Linked DNA regions of Homo sapiens: all the other regions are linked to region 3. The links are contacts of gene promoters, found by promoter capture Hi-C in blood cells and fetal thymus (Javierre and others, 2016). All regions are on one chromosome and are shown on one strand. The core of a region is centred on a gene start or on the middle of the fragment in contact, and the rest is flanking DNA. Distances in the headings are between cores, read along the strand shown.

Region 1 (4,039 bases), core at 1,382-3,881, 2.3 Mb after region 3:
TGGCTCACCCCTGTAATCCGAGCACTTTGGGAGGCCGAGGCGGGTGGATCGCCTGAGGTCAGGAGTTCGAGACCAGCCTGACAAATATGGTGAAACCCCGTCTCTACTAAAAACACAAAAATTAGGCGGGCGTGGTGGCGTGTGCCCAGCTACTCAGGAGGGTAAGACAGGAGAATCATATGAACCTGGGAAGTGGAGGTTGCAGTGAGCTGAAATTGTACTACTGCACTCCAGCCTGGATGACAGAGTGAAACTCCGTCTCAAAAAAAAAAAGAAAAGAAACACTGACATTATGCATTGTCATGGGACACTGCGCAGCTCCACACCTAGCTAAAGAAATGCTTAATATTCAAGGTAAACCACGTACACTTAAACTAATATGGTATCCCCTCCATCTGCAACCCTTCCTGCTTTAACAAGTTTTCATTCAGTTTCTGTGTCACTGAGGGAACCTGGGCAGTGTGCCTGCTGTAGGTTTGGGTTTCGGTTCTCTAAGCGTCGGAGGTGGAGAGCTGTTAAGGAGGTATGCATTTTTAGAAGTAGGGAGACCTGAAACTTTGCATGCAAATTTGTTGGCTCAATTTTCCTGGGTGTGGTACTTTGTAAAACTAATCGAAAATCCTTGATCCTAAGCGTTGCCCATTTTTAAAAGGTAAACATAACTCAAGAAAATAAACAAAAATAATTTTTTACATAGATGAAAGAGGAAGGAAACTTTTTTATTTTAAACAAAATAGGGGCCAGGCGTGGTGGCTTATGCCTGTAATCCCAGCATTTTGGGAGGCTGAGGCGGGTGGATCACCTGAGGTTAGGGGTTTGAGACCAGCCTGCAAACCTGATGAAACCCCGTCTCTACTAAAAATACAAAAAATTAGCCGGGCGTGGTAGCGGGCACCTGTAATGTCAGCTACTCGGGAGACTGAGGCAAGGAGAATCGCTTGAACCCAGGAGGCAGAGGTTGCAGTGAGCTGAGGCTGCACTGAGCCTAGATCACACCCATTGCACTCCAGCCTAGGCAACAAGAGCGAAACTCCGTCTCAAAAAAAAAAAAAAAAAGACAGCAGTTGCTTTCAAATAATAGAATGGGAAGGAGGTGTAATTCACATGCATTTGTACATTGTGGGGTGGGGAATAGCTCCTTTTATAGGCAAATTCCTAGAGGGCATCTTTAAAAGTGAAAGAACTCCCACTTTCCACTCCAAGCCTTGGTCTGGAAGAAGAGGGTGGCACAAAAAGGAATGTGCTGAATTTGGAGAATCTGTAGGTGTCCCAGAAAGGGAGGTAGACTGGGAAGTAGGGCTGAGAAGGGAAATAGCTCACAAACTATGAAAGGGACAGAGCTTGAGGAGGAGACTGCCAGGAAGAAGTTCCTGGAGGCCTGGAGTATGGCACGGGACTGTTAATGCGGTTCCCTCCAAGGCCTTATGCTGTCGACACCCTCCGTTACTCACTTCTTTCAAAGCTTCCGAAAAAGGCTTATTCAAGTATCAGGATATTATTTTGAAATCTTACCCAATGTGGCTTTTGTTACTAGCACTTCCTGCTTTCTGACCTTCACTCTTTCCCCATCCCCCGTTTTCTCAGCTACAGCATTTGACTAGAAGAAGGATGTTAGACCAGAACACACAGACCAGATTCTTGGCTTTTGACTTTTTTAAACTATTAGGATTCCAGGCATAAATTACAGATTTAAGGTAATGTGCTATTAAAGTTTTTTTCTGGCTGGGTGCTGTGGATCCTGCCTGTAATCCCAGCAATTTGGGAGGCCGAGGTGGGTGGATCACTGGAGCCCAGGAGTTGCAGACCAGCCTGGACAACATAGTGAGACCCTGTCTCTACAAAAAATACAAAAAAATGGGCCAGGCACAGCGGCTCACGCCTGTAATCCCAGCACTTTGGGAGGTCCAGGTGGGTGGATCACGAGGTCAGGAGATCGAGACCATCCTGGCCAACATGGTGAAACCCCGTCTCTACTAAAAATACAAAAATTAGCTGGGCGTGATGGTGCGTGCCTGTAGTCCCAGCTACTCAGGAGGCTGAGGCAGGAGAATCGCTTGAACCCAGGAGGCAGAGGTTGCAGTGAGTCAAGATCATGCCACCGCACTCCAGCCTGGTGACAGAGACAGACTCCATCTCAAAAAAAAAAAAAGAAAAAGAAAAAGAAAAAGAAAAAAATCAGCTGGGTGTAGTGGTAAGTTCCTGTAGTCTCAGCTACTCAGGAGGCTGAGGCAGGAGGATTGCTTGAGCCTGAGAGGTCGAGGCTGCAGTGAGCCATGAGTGCGCCACTGCATTCATTCCAGCCTGGGTGACAGCCTGGGTGTTTTTGAGACCCTGTCTCAAAAACAAACAAACAAAAATAGTTCCTTTTAGCCCACCCCACTCGCCTGTAGAGATTATTGCAACTGTGAAAGGGAGGAGTCAGAAGAGAAAGGAGATGAGGCCCCTCTTCAGTGTCTAAGGAGTAGAGAAGTAGTTCTGCTGTCTGTCCCCACACCAGCCCTGGGGAAGGAAGGAAGCATCAAATTCCCAGAGGGCTTAGGGATCTGAGAGAGCAAAGCAAACTGGTGCCTTGCTTTCCAGGCAGCCGAGCTCTCCGAGCTCCTCTGCAACCCAAGCGCCCCTCCCTCCACCACAGAGTTGGGGTAGAGATATCTGTGTGGTGTGTCAGGATGGCCGACCTCAGGCTTCCTCACCGAGTTCAGAGATGCCCCAGGGTACTGCAGCATTCAGGGGAATGTCTTTCTCTTTGGCCAAGAGTGGCACAGATGTGTCAGTGACAGCCAGCAGACCTGGGGAGGACTTGCAGTGAGGAAGAGGAAATCTCACCACCCTCAACTTGCATAGAGTGCTGTAACAAAGGACATCTCAACAAATACCAGTGTGAAGAAGTGAGAAGGATCAAGAATCAGACAAGATGAACTGTTAAGCAAAGGCCAATGATACGGTCTCCATCTGTGTCCCTGCCCAAATCTCATGTTGAGTTGTAATCCCCAATGTTGGAGGAGGGGGCTGGTGGGAAGTGATTGGATCCTGGGGGCAGATCTCCCTCTTGCTGTTCTCGTAATAGTGAGTGAATTCTCACGAGATCTGGTTGTTTAGAAGTGTGTAGCACCGGCCGGGCACAGTGGCTCATGCCTGTAATCCCAACACTTTGGGAGGCTAAGGAGGGTGGATCACGAGGTCAGGAGATCGAGACCATTCTTGCCAACATGGTGAAACCCTGTCTCTACTAAAACTACAAAAATTAGCTGGGAATGGTGGCACATGCCTGTAATCCCAGCTACTTGGGAGGCTGAGGCAGGAGAATCACTTGAACCAGGGAGTCGGAGGTTGCAGTGAGCCGAGATCATGCCACTGCACTCCAGCCTGGCGACAGAGCGAGACTCCATCTAAAAAACAAAACAAACGAAAAAAAAAAACAGTGTGTAGCTCCTCCCCCTTGTCTCTCTTCCTCCTGCTCCAGCAACGTAGGATGTGCCTGCTTCCCCTTCTCCTTCAACCATGATTGTAAGTTTCCTGAGGCCTCTCCAGCCATGCTTCCTGCACAGCCTGTGGAACCATGAACTAATTAAACCTCTTTTCTTTATAAGTTGCCCAGTCTCAGGTAAATCTTTATAGCAATGCGAGAACAGACTAATGCGGCTGTCATGGACAGATGGGGAAAATGGGCCAGACTCTACCACTACCCTTAGTGCTCTGACACCATGTAATCCTACCCCACCTCTGTCCAGAATTTAGGAGAGAAAGGGGGAAAGGGAGAAATTATGAGTTTGACCTGAAATTGGCCACAATTAAGCTTTTACCACTAGGTGAAATGGTGATCATTAAACACAATCATAAGAAAATGAAGAAAGTCACATTTCCTGAGAGCCTGAGTTTGTAGCACAAGAGACATACCAGTAATATACAAAGAAGAGGAAACAAGAAAGAAAGGGAGAGGAACAGGCTTATGTGCCAGGGATGTGGTGGGCACCTAGGGAGGTCAGCCGCCTCTGGTTTAACCTCCAGGCTAAAGCAGGAAAGCAGATCACAGCGTGAA
Region 2 (4,419 bases), core at 1,718-4,217, 2.3 Mb after region 3:
TACGCTTTTCTAATCATTTATTTGTATTTAACAAAAGTAGTGATCCACAACCCATTGGAAATAACCACAATTTGAGAAGCAATGCAGTCGCCTTTGATATTCCCGAGATGGACACTAGGTGGCGCCCAAGGATCTTCTTCCTGGCTGGTTGCGTGATCTTTGCAATGGCACGCTGGTCATAAGGCGCTTGGCAGTGTATAAGTGATAAGGCGCTTTTCCAGTGTAGACGGGCAGAATTGTCAGACCTTTCCTATCTATCAAGTCCACAGAGAAGGCAACTCACTCTCCTTTGTAGGGGACATCTATAAATAATTGAAGTTGACTTACACAAATGAAGACATTTTCATGTTTTGCCTATTGTTGGGAGGCTTCCCAGCTGAATAGAAGTAATCTCTAAACACCAAAGCTGTTACAACTATTGTTATATCAAGAAGACTATTTGAGAGCCTTTGTTCAATAATAGTGACAGGAGCCAACCACATCCGGGCCAAATTATAAAGGAAATCTACAAAGTCTTTTCAATGCCCACATCTCCCAGAATCAGGAGGGCAGTGGAATGGCAGAACAGAATTCTGAAAAATACCTGGCTGATATCAATCTATAAACGAGACCTCGAGAGGCAATCCTTGCATGCAGTCCTCATAAATATGAGATCCACAGTCAACAGAAAGACTCTCCCACACACAATAGACAGCCGAGTACAACACTTCCGGCTGCTCCCCGGGAGCCACTCACAGGACACTCCTATATTTAAACATACATTGAATGCTATTTAAAAACACACATGAAATATATCAAAGCTTTCCATTAAGAGATCTGAGAATCCAACCCTGATGAGCCCTGCCACAGCTACAACCTATGTGAAAGTTCAGCAGAGAAACTTATTCCTTCAGCCTCACTAGGACAGTGCTAACAAAGACCAGCTTATCACCAACACATAAATTGTCAAAGCCTTTAGCTTTCAATACGTTCTTCCCCCTCTAAGACTTTTGCACCACTGGGGCAGACAGCAAGAAGAATGCAGACCCGTCTATGGCCAAGGGCAGACCACAAGAATGCAGACCTATGGCCAAGGTTGACATCAAGAATGCAGACCTGTCTACGGCCAAGGTCGACATCATCCCTTGAGATGACTTGTCAAGGTTTCCAGGCCTGCCACTTGTGACTAGAAGTCTGATTTCCAACTTGTGTACCTGCCTCGAGAGTTTGCTCTGGCCATTCTTCAAGTTTGTCAGCCCAAGTCCTCAAAAACTTGTAAATCTCCCCATCCAACTCTGACCTTGTTTTGCTTGGGGTTGAACGTGCTAGGAATGAATACCCACTCTGTCAAGGAGAATGCAGTGGAACAGCAGCCACTGGAAATCATCCCTGCGTGGAGATAGGCAGTAGCCCTAGTTATTGCCAATAACCTCATGTTCCTACTGATAATCTTGATCATCTTTGGTAGTGAGACAACACAAAGAGATCATGTAGCCTTGGAATAGATACAAGTTTGCCTATTAAATCGGGGGGTCAAACTGTGAAGATCCCTTCTTTCTTGGATTTTTTTGCTAGTTGATGATTTTAACAGTTGTTTCTGGTCACTGCCATGACTGTTTTTAGAGGCCTCATAGGGCAAGAAAGACCAAACACATTAAAAATAACCAAGTGAAGTTCTTTTGCACAAAGTTTGAAGACATTCATCTTTGACTTTAATCTACAGAACTAGGTAACAGAGGTTTTTAATCCTAATCCGTAATAGTTGTCTCTGCTAATCTTATTTGTCCATTATTAGTCAAGCTCCCAACCTGAAAAGACACACTCGAATTATGCCAATTCAAGGAGTAAAATTTATTAAAATATATTATTTACAAAGGTGTGAGTGAAGGCTTAGGAAAACAAAAGGGTAACCAGTAGTAACAGAGGAACTAAACATCCCACAGTTGAAAGTTGTAGGGACCGAGTAGCTGCTGGAACCCATAAGAAACTCACATAGAGGAAGTCACCTTGAGAGGAGTTTTTAAGAAACACAGCCAACCTAAGGTGACCCTACCCCACCAAACTCTCCTTTCACCATGAACCAAACCCAACCAAACATCCCAGCCTCCCAGGACAGAGCGCAGGGTAAGACTGGATCTAGGGGAATAGATGGAATATCTAGGGGAACAGATAAAATATATACATATATGGCACCATCCGAGCCTTTTGCCTTCAGCATCATCTCTTGTCCTTCACCTGGTGGAAAGATTGAGTTCCCAATACGGGGCAGGATCAATGTTCCACCAACTACTACTTCAATACAAGTTGTTCTCATACTCCACAGCCTAAAACTTTAGCCAGCATTGGTGTTATTCATTTAACTTATTTCAGAGAAAAGAGAGGAGAAACACTTAAATGACATAAAACACTGTTGTGACAATCCTGACTTCTGTGAGGTCTGTATTGGTCATCTTAGCTGCCTTTGCCCTCTGCCCATTCCGAGTTCCAGTTAGCCTCCTCCAGCACCTTTGCTGGGCCAGGGTTCTTTACCAGATGAAAAGTACAAAACCTTCATTCTTACAGTGAGTCTTTGGAGGTCTTCTATTTACGGGTTGAAGTTTTTCCTTCAAGACAACTGGTTAAGGGAGCACAGTCACCAGTAAACCCCCTGGTTTCCAAACATCACTCTCCTTGCCACCACTGTGTAGGAACAAACAGTCCAATTTCCCTCAGACAATCAAGATCAATGAACTCAAACACCACAATCACCTCCTTATTTCCCTACTAATTCAATGGCATGAGAAGCCCAAGATGACCAAAAGGCAGTCTCCACTACCAACGCACTGGAACCATCACTCCCTTCCATGCTAGGCTCCCAAAACTTACATGCTTTTCAAAGAATGAAATAGACTGAATGCTCCTTGAGAGTAAAAAATTTTTATTTGTGGCCGGGGGCACAGTAGCTCACGCCTGTAATCCCAGCACTTCGGCAGGCCGAGGCAGGTGGATCACTTGAGGCCAGGAGTTCAAGACCAGCCTGGTCAACATGGCAAAACCCCATCTCTACTAAAAATGCCAAAATTTAGCCAAGCATGGTAGTGCACGCCTGTCATCCCAGCTACTCGGGAGGCTGAGGCACATGAATCACTTGAACCCAGGAGGCAGACGGTACAGTTAGCCGAGATCACAATACTGCACTTCAGCCTGGGTGACAGAGTGAAACTCTGTCTCACAAAATAATGATAATAAATAAAATAAAATAGAACGGGCAAGGCCGGGCACGGTGGCTCACACCTGTAATCCCAGCACTTTGGGAGGCCGAGGTGGGCGGATCACGAGGTCAGGAGATCAAGACCATCCTGGCTAACATGGTGAAACCCCGTCTCTACTAAAAATACAAAAAAAGTAGCCGGGTGTGGTGGTGGGCGCCTGTAGTCCCAGCTACTCAGGAGGCTGAGGCAGGAGAATGGCGTGAACCCAGGAGGCGGAGCTTGCAGTGAGCCGAGATCGCACCACCGCACTCCAGCCTGGGAGACAGAGCAAGACTCTGTCTCAAAAAAAAAAAAAAAAAAAAAAAAAAGAACGGGCAATCACCATTTTAAATAACTTAGTGATCAAAATTCACATGACCAGTTGTGAAACAACCTGGCCTGATGTACCTTCTGGTGTGGTGCGGTAGGTACAGCATCTCCTATGTAGCATTCTTGCAAAAGACATTTAACCTGAACTGAGCCATGAGGAAACAGACAAATCTAGAATATGGGACATACTACAAGTGGCCTGGACTCTTACAAAAGGTCAATGTCGTGGAAAACAAAATAGTAGGGAATAATTCTAGATTAAAAGAGACTGATAACCAAATGAACAGCATGAATTTTCATCAAGACACTGCATTGGGAGAAGAAATGAACATTTTTGGGAACTGGGGAAACTTACTACGGACTGAATAGTTGATAAAATTATTGATGTTTTAAGTTGTGATAATATTGAGGCTAGGTAGAAGAATGTCTTTACTCTTGGGAAATGCACATTGAGGTTCCAAGGCAGTCTCAAGGAAAAGCACCGGCAGAACTGTTTGGAGTGTGAACTGAACTAGCGGCACTTTGCACGGAGCACCATTTTAACTTCCAAGATTGACAAATTGTCGTTGTTCAGACCTGTGGATTTGGCAGACAATTTCTCAGAAACAAACAAACTGAGCCTATCACTTCAAAAAAAAACAACTGACAGCATGTGTTGTCAATGATGAAATTCAAGTTTTCAAGGGGAAATTACATACTACAACTTTTAAGAAACTACCACTTGTCAAATTTTGTGGTTGTTATCAAAGGATACCCACAATTACCTGGAAAGGCTATTAAAGTATTCCTGTGCCAGGCACAGTGGCTCATGCCTGTAATCCCAGCACTTTGAGTGGCTGAGGCAGGCAGATCACTTAAGCTCAGGAATTCGAGATCAGTC
Region 3 (4,302 bases), core at 1,754-4,253:
TTGCTGTTTTTGTTGTTTGTTGTCTTAAGCCCTGAGGTATTGGTAATTTGTTACACAGCAATAGACAACTAATATATTCAGAACGTAAAGCATTTTGAATTGACTATGGAGAACACTAAAGTTCGTTTTTTTTTTTTTTTTTGAGATGGAGTCTCGCTCTGTCACCAGGCTGGAGTGCAGTGGCGCGATCTTGGCTCACTGCAACCTCTGCCTCCTGGGTTCAAGCGATTCTCCTGCCTCAGCCTCCCAAGTGGCTGGGACCACAGGCGTGCGCCACCACGCCCAGCTAATTTTTGTGTTTTTAGTAGAGACAGGGTTTCACCATGTTGGCCAGGATGGTCTCCATCTCCTGACCTCAGGTGATCCGCCCACCTCAGCCCCTCAAAGTGCTGGGATTACAGGTGTGAGTCACCGCACCTGGCCGGAGCACACTAAAGTTCTTTAAGCTACAGCTCAATACTTCCCTTCTAAGAAGTTACAAGAAAACATGACAGCAATGTCTTATCTACAAATAGTTTTGCCGCCCTAGAACATGGCTCTTCAGGGCTTCCTGCTGCCCATTCTCAGATACCATCACACTGATGCCATAAATTATGATGATATTTAGAGAAGATATTTGCATTCAGTTCCTAACAGGTTTGGTTTCAAAGGAGTTAACTGATACTTTAGTCATATTTGCATGCTTCTTCCTAGCACTGATTTCTAATTAATCACCAAATCTGGTCATTTTTCCTTCCCAACATCTCCTCCCCTTGCGCTTTCCCCCTCCCGCTGACCCCAAGCCTGGCTTGGGCCCTTACCTGTCTGTCCACTGCGGACTCTCCCTAACTTCTGTCTCCAGCCCTCTTCAATCCACTAAGTTGCCTTCATAGTACTCTCCCATGGCAGCTTAATAAAACCAGCCACAACTCTCCCTTATTTAGCGAAGCAAATTTCACAGTCCTTGGGCTAATATTCAAGATTACAAGAAATACAATCTGATTTCAAACTACTCTTGTACTCAAGAAATACAATCTGATTTAAAATCACTCTTCAGAAAATTACATACGCTTTTGGTCACAGCATTCGCTACTTCATTTACCCTTTCCCACCTAGAAAGTCAAGGAATTCCGAACTTCCTTCTAATTCCTAACTTGATTTCTAACAGTAACAACCCAAACTCCTAAGAATATGCTTCTACACTAACCCAAACTCTAAGAATATACTTCTACACTATTTTTACATTTATTAATTTTGGCTGTATCTTCTGACTTACTGCTATGATGAACATCAGTTCATTTACTTCTGCTCTTCTAATATATTTATAATCACATTTTTTCACGCCTCTGTTGGTAAGCATAACTTTAAGTAACAGACCCACACCTCTATCTCTCACTCCATCACCATAGCCATTCCCTTTTGACTTTGGGTCCCTGACCTTTCCTTCCACTCCTCTCATAATCCCTATTTTTCAGACCTGCAATACACACCACCTTCAGTCAAACTGTCCCCCGGAACATCTTTTGTCCTCCACCATGCTATCCTCCATACTGTTGAGTTCACTTTTCCAAATTGCATTCCTCTACGATCCAGTCCAAACTCCTCTGAGAAGGGGAAGACTCAATACAAAATGGTAACTCCCTCCCTGAATTCCTGGAGCATATATTAGTTGTTCCATTAATCTAACCACCAATTATGTATGTTGCGATTTTTTTCTGGCAGTTGTATTTAACTTTTCATTTGTGTAAGGCAGAAAGTTGTTTTCCTAACAAGACTCTAAGACCCCTGTCTCAGCATTTCCAAATCTACTTAGTAGAGTGCAGTGACTTGCATATATTGGATACTCTGTAACCGTGTTTACTGATGAATGCTAATATGAAAGCCTCTTCATATGAACCTCAAAAAGCTGAAAGTCAACTACTCTCTTAGTTTCCCAGCCTGGAAGATCAGATTACTTCATAAAAGTCACACAGGCCTGGATTACAGACCAATGAAACATCCAAAGGAAGGATACTTCTAAGTAAACATACAAACTTTACTGGGGAAGCCGCCTGATTAAAACCTTCCCCGGCAGAATCATGTCCAAAGTGAAGTACAAGGTCTGCTTAAACAGCTTATTAAAAGAAAAAAAAAACAGCGAAAAAAGCGCATCCCTATTGAAAAGATATTTTACTAGCTCCCGTGTCTTAACTTCTTAACTAAGAAACGAAAAGAGCCATACATCAGGTTGAAGTATCTGGGATTCCCGGACGAGGTGGAGGGCAGCGGAGGAAAAACACCGAGAGGCTGCGCTGCAAGGGACGCAGGGAAAAGCAAGCCTGGGGCAGGTCTGAGTTCCGAGTTCCCGACTGCTCCCTCGTGGTGTCTGCGACCCGGTAGCGGGAGCAAGTGAGGTTGTTGGACTGCAGTTTTCCCCCTACAGTGGCGATGCGGGGCCGGGGTCGCGGGTATGAGGAGATGGGGTGTGAGCCGGGGTGCGCCAGGGCAGAGCGCTTCGCCCACCGAGACGGGCAGGGCGGCTCCGGGCACTGGCCGGGCGGGGCAAGGAGCTCCTAGGCCGCCAGGTCCCTCTCTGCTGGCTCCGCGGAGTCCGCCCGGGGGAAGGGAAGGTCGGGGAGGGCCGGGCTTCTCCGAGTGGCCGCGGGGGCTGCGGGACAGGTACTTACCCGGGTGCCATTTCAGGGCCAGCTTCCGATAGGCCTTCTTGAGCTCCTCCTCGCTGGCGTCGCGCCGCACCCCCAGCGCCTCATAGTGACACTTCATCGCCCGACCGGGCGGGCGGCCGGCGCTGGGGCCCGGGACGGGGTCGGGGCCCGGGCCCGGGCCGAAGCGGCGGCGGCGGCGGCGCTGGCAGTCCTCTCCGGCGGGAGTCCGCCGCCCGCACCGGGCCAGCCAGCGAGCCCGGCGGCGGCGGCGGCGGCGGCGGTGGTGTAGGTCAGTGAAGGCGCGCGGTGGCGGCAGACGACGCAGGCTGCGGCAAGCGGGAGCGCGGCGGGGGCGGTGCCGGCGGCCGCCGCTTCGCATGGGCTAGGGGTGGGCTCTGTGCCGGAAAGGGCCGCGCGGGAGGGGGTGGGGCCTCGGCGGGGTGAGAGGCGAGGCCCCGAGGAAGGAAGGCGGGGCCTTGGCGAGGAGAGAGGCGGGCCGCGCAGGAGAAAGGCGGGAGCTTGGCGGGGAAAGAGGCGGGCCGCGTGGGAGGAAGGTAGGCCTTGGCCGGGAAGAACAGGAGGAAGGCGGGACCTTGGTGTGAGAGGCGGGGCCTCGGCGGGGCGAGAGGCGGGGCCGCGCGGAAGGGAGGCAGGGCCACGCTGGTGTCATTGTGAGGGGCACAGATGGCGGTCAGTGTGAGTGGCAGCCGACCTGAGGGCTGAAGGGGGAGATAGGAGCTGGGATGGGAGAGGATTCTGGAAAATATCTGATTATAATTTCTCAATGGATCCCCGTTTTTATAGATAAGGCGATTCAGACTCCAAGTGGTCAAGTGGTTGGCTCAAGCCTCCTCAGCTAATACAGTAGCAGAATTCGGTTGGACTGAATATCAGGTTTTTTTTTTAATCTCTTTAATTCTCTTCAGCTGCCACTTAAGATATCTGGTATTGATCATCTTGACCAATATGCTTGAGAAAGGACAGTTAGATTATTTAAGCGGAAACAATTTAAAAGGGAAGCATCAACACACTTAATGAAAAGCCTTACCACCAACATGGATGAAATTGTGCTGATCTATCCATCCAACACACTTTAATCCTAACTTTCTGGCCTCTAATCCTACCTTTCCAAGATTGGTTTAGGTTAAGAAAGCAGTTAAAGGATAGTATTTAACTGGTAGGTTTTGGTTGATCTGACTATCTGCACAATTATTCCAAACACTTTGAAAGGTATCAAAATAATACCATAATTATTAAAATGCATTAATACACCAATATATTTCACTGTAATGTGGAATGTTTACATGCATCAGTTAGGTGTGGGTTGTATTTACTAACCATGTATGGTTAGCTATGTTGCTAATATCTATTGCACAGGGTTGGCGTACCCAAGCGGTTTAGTAAGGTTATCCTTCTCTTCCCCAATATGCTGCCCCCAGTAAAATAAAAAACCCACGCTAAGCTTCATCAGGTTACTTCACACGCCACTGACCAACCAACTCACTACTCAGAATTCATACACTTCCCTTTTTTCCAGAGGAAGATTCTACACAGTCTCAGTTAGTTGGTAAATTGGTAATGGATAAGGATTGAGAAGTCTGAGTTTGGGGGAGAATGAAACCTTTCCCCTCCTGAGAACAGAATTGGGATGGTGGGCGGGGGGAAGGGAGGGACAAAA

The links. Contacts are between HindIII fragments. The CHiCAGO score rates a contact against its expected background, and 5 or more counts as called.
Region 1: a contact is called between a fragment that was not itself captured here and the fragment with the promoter of DNAJC21 in region 3, in 4 of 17 cell types (neutrophils, naive CD4 T cells, naive B cells and 1 more). The highest score is 16.6, in neutrophils.
Region 2: a fragment that was not itself captured here is called in contact with the fragment with the promoter of DNAJC21 in region 3 in 1 of 17 cell types (naive B cells); the score reaches 5.9 in naive B cells.

The regions. Positions count from the first base shown.
Region 1 is chr5:32,580,218-32,584,256 of GRCh38, reverse strand. No RefSeq gene overlaps it. Among named protein-coding and RNA genes, the nearest start is that of SUB1, 3.3 kb to the left of the region's middle. RefSeq lists an enhancer at 2,230-2,289. The HindIII fragment of the contact is 2,334 bases long and covers 1,465-3,798 here.
Region 2 is chr5:32,608,970-32,613,388 of GRCh38, reverse strand. No RefSeq gene overlaps it. Among named protein-coding and RNA genes, the nearest start is that of SUB1, 26 kb to the right of the region's middle. The HindIII fragment of the contact is 4,330 bases long and covers 803-4,419 here.
Region 3 is chr5:34,928,260-34,932,561 of GRCh38, reverse strand. DNAJC21 (DnaJ heat shock protein family (Hsp40) member C21) reads right to left here and starts at 3,003. Exons shown (of 12, transcript NM_001012339.3): 1 at 2,646-3,003. The coding sequence starts at 2,742. It overlaps LOC124900961 (a long non-coding RNA gene), which reads left to right and starts at 2,881. Exons shown (of 2, transcript XR_007058731.1): 1 at 2,881-2,913; 2 at 3,429-4,302. RefSeq lists enhancers at 2,238-2,407, 1,874-2,519 and silencers at 2,548-2,747, 2,778-2,847, 2,858-3,327. The HindIII fragment of the contact is 5,598 bases long and covers 1-4,088 here.